2 separate regions of the Homo sapiens genome follow, and region 2 is linked to region 1. The links are contacts of gene promoters, found by promoter capture Hi-C in blood cells and fetal thymus (Javierre and others, 2016). All regions are on one chromosome and are shown on one strand. Each heading gives the region's core, a stretch centred on a gene start or on the middle of the fragment in contact. The rest is flanking DNA. Distances are from core to core; before and after follow the strand shown.

The links. Contacts are between HindIII fragments. The CHiCAGO score rates a contact against its expected background, and 5 or more counts as called.
Region 2: a contact is called between the fragment with the promoter of SHKBP1 here and the fragment with the promoter of B9D2 in region 1, in 1 of 17 cell types (neutrophils). The highest score is 5.1, in neutrophils.

Annotation. Positions count from the first base shown.
Region 1 is chr19:41,362,483-41,366,174 of GRCh38, reverse strand. It overlaps B9D2 (B9 domain containing 2), which reads left to right and starts at 2,026. Exons shown (of 4, transcript NM_030578.4): 1 at 2,026-2,217; 2 at 2,652-2,743. The coding sequence starts at 2,656. It also overlaps a transcript of TMEM91 not described here. RefSeq lists an enhancer at 2,051-2,170. The HindIII fragment of the contact is 18,483 bases long and covers 1-3,692 here.
Region 2 is chr19:40,574,492-40,578,142 of GRCh38, reverse strand. It overlaps SHKBP1 (SH3KBP1 binding protein 1), which reads right to left and starts at 1,270. Exons shown (of 18, transcript NM_138392.4): 1 at 1,158-1,270; 2 at 859-912; 3 at 702-747; 4 at 513-586. The coding sequence starts at 1,243. It overlaps SPTBN4 (spectrin beta, non-erythrocytic 4), which reads right to left. Exons shown (of 36, transcript NM_020971.3): 36 at 1,679-2,732. The coding sequence ends at 2,574. RefSeq lists silencers at 1,172-1,241, 1,262-1,441, 1,792-1,881. The HindIII fragment of the contact is 21,373 bases long and covers 1-3,651 here.

The DNA of each region.
Region 1 (3,692 bases), core at 777-3,276:
CCCCAGCTCCAGCTTAAAGGACAGAAAGATCATTTAAAAGTGAAACCTCTGCCAGGTGCAGAGGCTCACTCCAGCCTGGGCAACAGAGCAAGATTCTGTCTCAAAAAAAAAAAAAAAAAAAAGTAAATAAATAAAATAAAAAAGAAAATACAAAAAGTAGCTGGGCCCAGGCGAGGTGGCTCATGCCTGTAATCCCAGCACTTTGGGAGGCTGAGGCAGAAGGATCACATGAGGCCAGGAGTTCGAGACCAGCCTGACCAACATGGTGGAACTCCATCTCTACTAAAAGCACAAACATTAGCTAGATATAGTGGTGGGTGCCTGCAATCCCAGCTACTAAGGAGGCTGAGACAGAAGAATTGCTTGAACCTGGGAGGCGGAGGTTGTGGTGAGCAGAGATCATGCCACTGCACTCCAGCCTGGGCGACAGAGGGAGACTCTGTCAAAAAAAAAAAAAAAAAAAAAAACCCGGCCGGTCACGGTGGCTAACGCCTGTAATCCCAGCACTTTGGGAGGCTGAGGCGGGTGGACCACCTGAGGTCAGGAGTTTGAGACCGGTCTGGCCAATATGGTGAAAACCCGTCTCTACTAAAAATACAAAAATTAGCTGGGTGTGGTGGTGCACGCCTGTAGTCCCAGCTACTCGGGAGGCTGAGGCAGGAGAATCTCTTGAACCCGGGAGGCAGAGATTGCAGTGAGCTGGGATCGCACCACTGCACTCCAGCCTGGATGACAGGGGGAGACGCCATCTCAAAAAGTAAAAAACCAAAATTATAACGAGGGTACAACATTTCAATAGGATAACATTTATATTAAACAATTCAATGGAATACTTCACTAGTTGATATATGCATTATTAATGGGGTCTCCCTATATTCGAACTTCTGGCCTCAAGAGCTCTTCCCGCCTCAGCCTTCCAAAGGGCTGGGATTACAGTTATGAGCCACCGCGCCTAGCCAATGGTAGCTTGTAAATACTTTGTATCTATTGGCCTGGCTGGGTGGCTCACGCCTGTAATCCCGGCAGTTTGGGAGGGAGAACTGGGAGGATAGCTAGAGCCCAGGAGGTCAAGACAAGACTGGGCAACATAGCAACATAGCAGGACTCCATCTCTTAAAAAAAAAAAAAAGAATTAGCCAGCCGTGGTGGTGCATGTCTGTGATACCAGCTACATGGGAGGCTGAGGTAGGAGGATCCCTTGAACCCAGGAGTTAAGAGGCTGCAATGAGCTGTGATCGAGCCACCGTACTCCAGCCTGGGTGACAGAGTGAGACCCTTTTAAGGAGCCTTGATGGGACCTGATGACTGGCTTGATGTGGGAAATGATGGCATCTAGGATGGCATCCAGGGACAACATCTCCATTTCTTGATTGATAAATCAATCAATAGGAAAGAGGATTTTCTGCAAATAAGGGAATCTTAGTTCCTCATTTCTCTTCGCTACCCCAACCGCTCCTTGCTCAGAATCAAGCAGTAACAGTGAACTTGGTAGTAGCTCCGAGAAGGAAGTTGGACTTATCCAACTTCCTTCCTTCCTTGTCCTTGAGAAACCTAGGGGAACTCTAAAACGGAAGCAGAACCCACTCCCCAACTTCTCCACTCTCTGAATGAGGAGTGATTTTTTTGCTTTGTTTTCCAGTTACAAGGCCGGGGATGTACACGAGGTCCTGGAAGGAATTCCCCCTTGGTCCTGGTTCAATCTCTGATTTGTGATCCCGGACCACAGAGAGCTCTTCGGTGGGGTAGGCGCAGCACGGAGCAGTTAGGGATTTGCTTTTTTGGTAAAGAAGGTATCTGGGAGAAACTGCACTCAAACTTCCTCAGCCACACTCAACATGGCAGCTTCCTAGCCACGCCCAAAATGGCGGAACCCTTTGCCGTAGCTGGAGAGACGCTATTTTCCCAAAATGGAGCGGAGGAGGAAAATGTCCATCACAGCTTCACCCCGCCCCCCGCAGACGGCTAGCACCAATTAGTAGCGCGCAGAGCGAGTACAAAGCTAGGGGAGGAGCCTGCTGTTGCCCCAGCAACAACCACGGAAACCAAGACGAGCGCGGTCGCGGAAGTATCGCGGCTTACATATCTCGCAGCCAGGCGGGTCCTGGGAGAGGCGCGAGCCAGGCCTGGTCGGCGCCCGCGGAGAAAAGAAGCAGTCAAGCCCATGAACTACAACCCCGGTTGCCGCTTTCTCCTCTCCTAACCGTTAAGTGCGCTAAGGTAGGAATGACGCATGCGCTGCGCTTAGAGGCGGGGTTAAGTCGGACCTGAACTCATAACGCATGCGCCTTATGGAGCTTGCTGGGGGAGGGAAGCGGGGTGGCTGGCGTGACGCGGAAGGCGGGTCTTTTGCGCTCGTGGGCGGAGCCATAGCCCCTTCGGGCGGGGCTTTCCGCCGACCTGAACCCGAAAAGGTTATTTTGGACTTCCCAGAGTTAAATGCTGGTTCCCCAGACAAGGGTCCCCCCATTTTTTCCAGGCTTTCATGGGTTGGCAATTAGGATCTGTGGTCAAGACCTCAGCCTCAGGGGTGTGACGAAGCTAGCTTGGAATCCTAGTACTACCCTTTACTTGCTGGGCCTCAGTTTCCCCCCCGTCAAATGGAGATAATACACTTACCTCACAGGGTTGTGATTATATTTTTCCCCTCCCAGGGCCATGGCTGAGGTGCACGTGATCGGGCAGATCATAGGGGCCAGCGGTTTCTCGGAAAGTAGCCTCTTCTGCAAGTGGGGCATTCACACAGGTATTCCCCCAAGCCTGGTTCATTTCCACACCAAGACCCCTAGCCTAGAGGCTACATGCTCCTTCCTCCACCCCTTAACGCAGACTCTTAACCTCATTTCCATCAGTTCTCAGTACTCCAGGCCCAGCCCACACCCTGTCCACATGAGTCTCAAGCTCCCATCTTTGTGTGTGTGAGGGGTGGGATACAGACAGGGTCTCTCTCTGCGCCCGGGCTGGAGTAAGGTGGTGTGATCATAGCTCAGTGCAGCCTCGAACTCTCGGGCTCTAGTGATCCTCCCGCCTCAGCCTCCTGAGAAGCTGGGACTACAGACACGCACCACCAAATCTGGCTAATTTTTTTTATTTTTTGTAGAGACAGGGTCTCGCTATGTTGCCCAGGCTGGTCTCGAACTCCTGCGCTCAAACAGGCCACCCACTTCAGCCTCTCAAAGTGCTAGGATTAAAAACGTGAGCCGCCACGTCCCAGGAAAGTAATTTTGTTCATGCTTCCCCAACTGAGGCCCTATAGAGTCATGGTATAGTGTAATGGTTAGGGTCATGGGCTGCCAGATCTGCATTTAAATATTAACTCCCCCACCTATTAATTGGAGACCTTTGGACTCGACCACTTTGAGCCTCAGTTTCCTTGTTTCAAAGTGAAGCTAATAGTAGCTAAGAAGCAGCACAGGTTTGAGGTTAAGAGCACAGACTGCCTGGGTTCAAAACCAGTTATTGCTTGTTAAGGCACCCTTGGGCTGATTATGTGAACTTGGGCACTTCTCTTCACCTCGACTTCCTTGTTTGTACAATGAGAGTCATAGAAATATTTACCTGTTGAAGTTGTCATGAGTACTAAACGAGTATCAACAGCACTTAGAATAGGAATAGGGCTGGAATAGGAAGTGCTCATTCAGTGTTTGCCTGGCTTATACAAGACTTTGATGGGGTCTTGTTTGTAAAGCCTGGGG
Region 2 (3,651 bases), core at 21-2,520, 790 kb after region 1:
AATTGACTAGAGGTCAGGGTCTAGGTGTGGGGGTGAACAGAGAATGCTGAGAGGGTAATTTTCAAAACTGCACAGAGAATGTCAAGGGGTAGAAAGTTTTGATGGAATAAAGATGCTAAGGAGTGATGATATGGGTGGAGGAAATGTTGAGTGTGTGTGTGTGTGTGTGTGTGTGTGTGTGTGTGTGTGTGTGTAGGGAGAAATCGAAGGACATAAAATTTTAACATGATCAAGATTCTCATGAAGTTTTGCCTGTTTGCTTTTTTAGAGAAGGGGTCTCGCTATGTTGCCCAGGCTAGTCTCCAAATCCTGGGCTCAAGTGATCCTCCCACCTCGGCCTCCCAAAGTGTTGGGATTACAGGCGTGAGCAATCCCGGCGCGCCCGGCCTGTGATCAAGGTTCTGAATGAGAATTCTAATAGAATGGAGCTCACGTGGACATTCAGAGGAGGTGAAAGAACTCCTCAGGGACTGAAGACAGTGAGGGACTCCCTCCCCTTTTTCCATGCCAACCTGGGATCCAACTCTTTGGTGCGCAGGAAGTTGAGGATGGGGGCGAAGACTGTAGGGTCCCTGTCGATGAAGATCTGCGGGAAAGGGGGGCAGAGGATGGATGGGGTAAAAGGCAGGACTGAGTGGGGTCCTGCCCCTCTTCCTACCAACCCCTCCCCCCCATCCCATTTCAGTTCTTGTCCGACTCACTGCTCCGGTCTCATCTTTCAGCGTCGAGATGCGTCCGCTCAGAAGACTGCAGGGAAGGGACACCGAGCAGGCGTCACGGGCCGGGGGAGTGGATATTAGGTCTCCCACGCCCTCTCCATCCCTCCTACCCTCGCCCCAAACTCGCTCTCCCGATCACCTGGAGAAGAAGGAGTCTGGGATCCAGGTGAGAGTCTGGCGAGAGGTACTGAATCTGGGCGGGGAAGGTAAACGGACGCAAGAGATGAAGAGGAGCGGGTGAGGAATGCGTCCCCCTCCCGCAGGATCCAGGGTTCCCTCCCCTTCCCCCTCCCCCGGCGTTTTTCCAGAATCTCGCGCCTCCAAAGGGGGGGGGGGCGGAGCAACCCTTGATGGACAGGGATTCCCCCAGGAGAGGCGGATACTCCCACCCCGCTTCCCGCCCCCGAGGATGGGACCTCAGGAGTCTCCCACACTCACCTCTTGCCTCCCACATTCAGATGAATGACTTCCCCGGGAGGCCCCCGACTGGGGACCCCCTCGGCTGCAGTAGCCGCTGCTGCCATGGCCCCCGGGCGAGCCGGCTGGCCCGCACCCACTTCCGGGTGTGCACCCGGACCCCGCCTCCATAGGCTGCTCATTGGGCCAGAGACTCCAGGAGTCACTAGCGATTGGACAGAGCGCCTGCCCATCGCGGTTAACTTTTCCGCCTCCTTAAAGGGGTCCGCCTTTCCTGAACTTGACGGGGCGGACCCGGAGTCTCCTTTGGGGAAGTTTATTACGAAGCATAACGAAATATTCTCCATCCCTCTAGGTTCTCGTCAAGGGGCGTGTGTTTAGACCCCGAAATTAAGTCCACATAAAAGGGTACATCTGGATGTTCTCCGCAGCCACGGTACCCCCGTGCCCCTCTCCCCACCCCGCACCCACCCCTACAGCCACCACAGCCCTCCTTTCAATCCTCCCGGGCGCAGCCCAGAAAACCCAAACAAAGGACCATAGACCGTCAAAGCCAAAGGGTTTATTATAGGTACATACAGTGTGCGCCCGCCACACCGCCCCACACCCCCGGGCCCCAGCGGCTTCTCCAGGCGGCCATGGGGACTGCCCACAACCCAATCCCCCGACTCCCCAGGGAGGTGCTCCAGCCAGAAGCATGCAGGGGTGGGCTTCCCCTCGCCCCTCCCCTCATGAAGTGGCATTTACAACTGGAGGGGGGAGGAGAGAGGAAAACAGTTTTGAGCTTTGACGCCCCTCCCATTAAAAGCCTTCGCGGATGCGGGGCGGGGGAGGAGGAGATCGACGTTTTGCAAAAATAAACTAAGTCAGGAATTAACCGCATGGCTCTGAGGCGGCGGAGTGCAGGGGGCTAGGGCCCCTTCACTCCCCCCTCCCAGACAGAGATCAAGGCAGCATTGGAAGTGAGGTAAAGGCGGGGAGGGGGTGTCCCCTCCCTGCCCCCTAGCACCCTGGATGGTCCAGGGGACCTCACCAGCGCCCCCGTGCCCATCCCTAGGGCAGAGAGGGGGGCAGGAATTACTGCCCCCACCACCCCAGCTTCTTGGGGCAGGATCTGCAGATCGGGGCTGGGGGCTTGGCTCAACTGGCCCCCTGCCCACCCCCATCAAGCTCAGTTATTGCATAAAAATAAGGGACCCCCAGCACCTGGGGTGGGGGTGGTGAGTGGGAAGGGGCCGAGATATGGCTATAGGGGCAGCAATCTCCCCACCACTTCTTGGGGTGCAGGAGAAGTCCCCTCCTTTCCGGTGCCCACCATGTCACGCGTCCTCAGTGTTGGAACTAGGGGCTCCCGCCCCTGCGGAAGAAAAAGTGTCTTTGTGCCCACAGTGCGGAAAAGAGGGGAGACGAGATGTGTCAGGTCCTGGGGGTGGGAAGTCACTTCCTGCGCCCGCTGGCCCTGCGATCTCCGCCTTCCCTCTTAGGGTTGCCCTCATCTGTGGATGAAGTAGTGGGTAGTGTCTGGCCCCAGCGGGCGATCTCTGCGTGTTCCGCCACCGAGGAAGCTACAGCCTCCAGCCAGCCGTTCATCTCCTCCTGGGGGAAGAAACAGGGCACAGAGGCCGTATTTGGAAGAGAGAAGCTGGAATAATAGGTGAATTTCAGATCAGACTACCCTCTCTGAAATTCAGTTTTCTCATCTATTAAAAAGGGATGATGATGATGATGCAGTTACATAGCAATATGTGCCAGGCTCTGTTCCAAACACTTTAGTGGATTAATTCCCTTAAACCTATGCAATAGGATTGTATATACTTCCTACTACAGAGATAAATGACACAAACAATGATAATAATATGGGCAGGCACTACTAGAGCACTGATATTTACTAGGCCCTGTGCTAAGTATCAGTTTATCATGTATCAATTAAACATGGAGCAATTTAATTCTCACAGTAACCCTATGATAAGAGACTTTTTTTTTTTTTTTTTTGAGACAGAGTCTTGCTCTGTCCCCCAGGCTGGAGTGCAATGGCTCGATGTCAGCTCACTGCAACCTCCATCTCCCAGGTTCAAGAGATTCTTGTGCCTCAGTCTCCTGAGTGTCTGGGACTACAGGCACGTGCCACCATGCCTGGCTACTTTTTGTATTTTTAGTAGAGATGGGGTTTCGCCACGTTGGCCACACTGGTCTTGAACTTCTGACCTCAAATGATCTGCCCACCTCAGCCTCCCAAAGTGCTGGAATTACAGGTGTGAGGCACCATGCCAGGCCAAGAAACTATTTTTAATCTTCATTGTGCAGATAAGTAAAAGAAGGCATGTAGTGGGTAAAGGCCTACTTCTGGCCGGGTGTGGTGGCTCATGCCTGTAATCCCAGCACTTTGGGAGGCTGAGGCGGGTGGATCACCTGAGGTCAGGAGTTTGAGACCAGCCTGACCAACATGGAGAAACCCCGTCTCTACTAAAAATACATAAATTAGCCGGGCATGGTGGCGCAAGCCTGTAATCCCAGT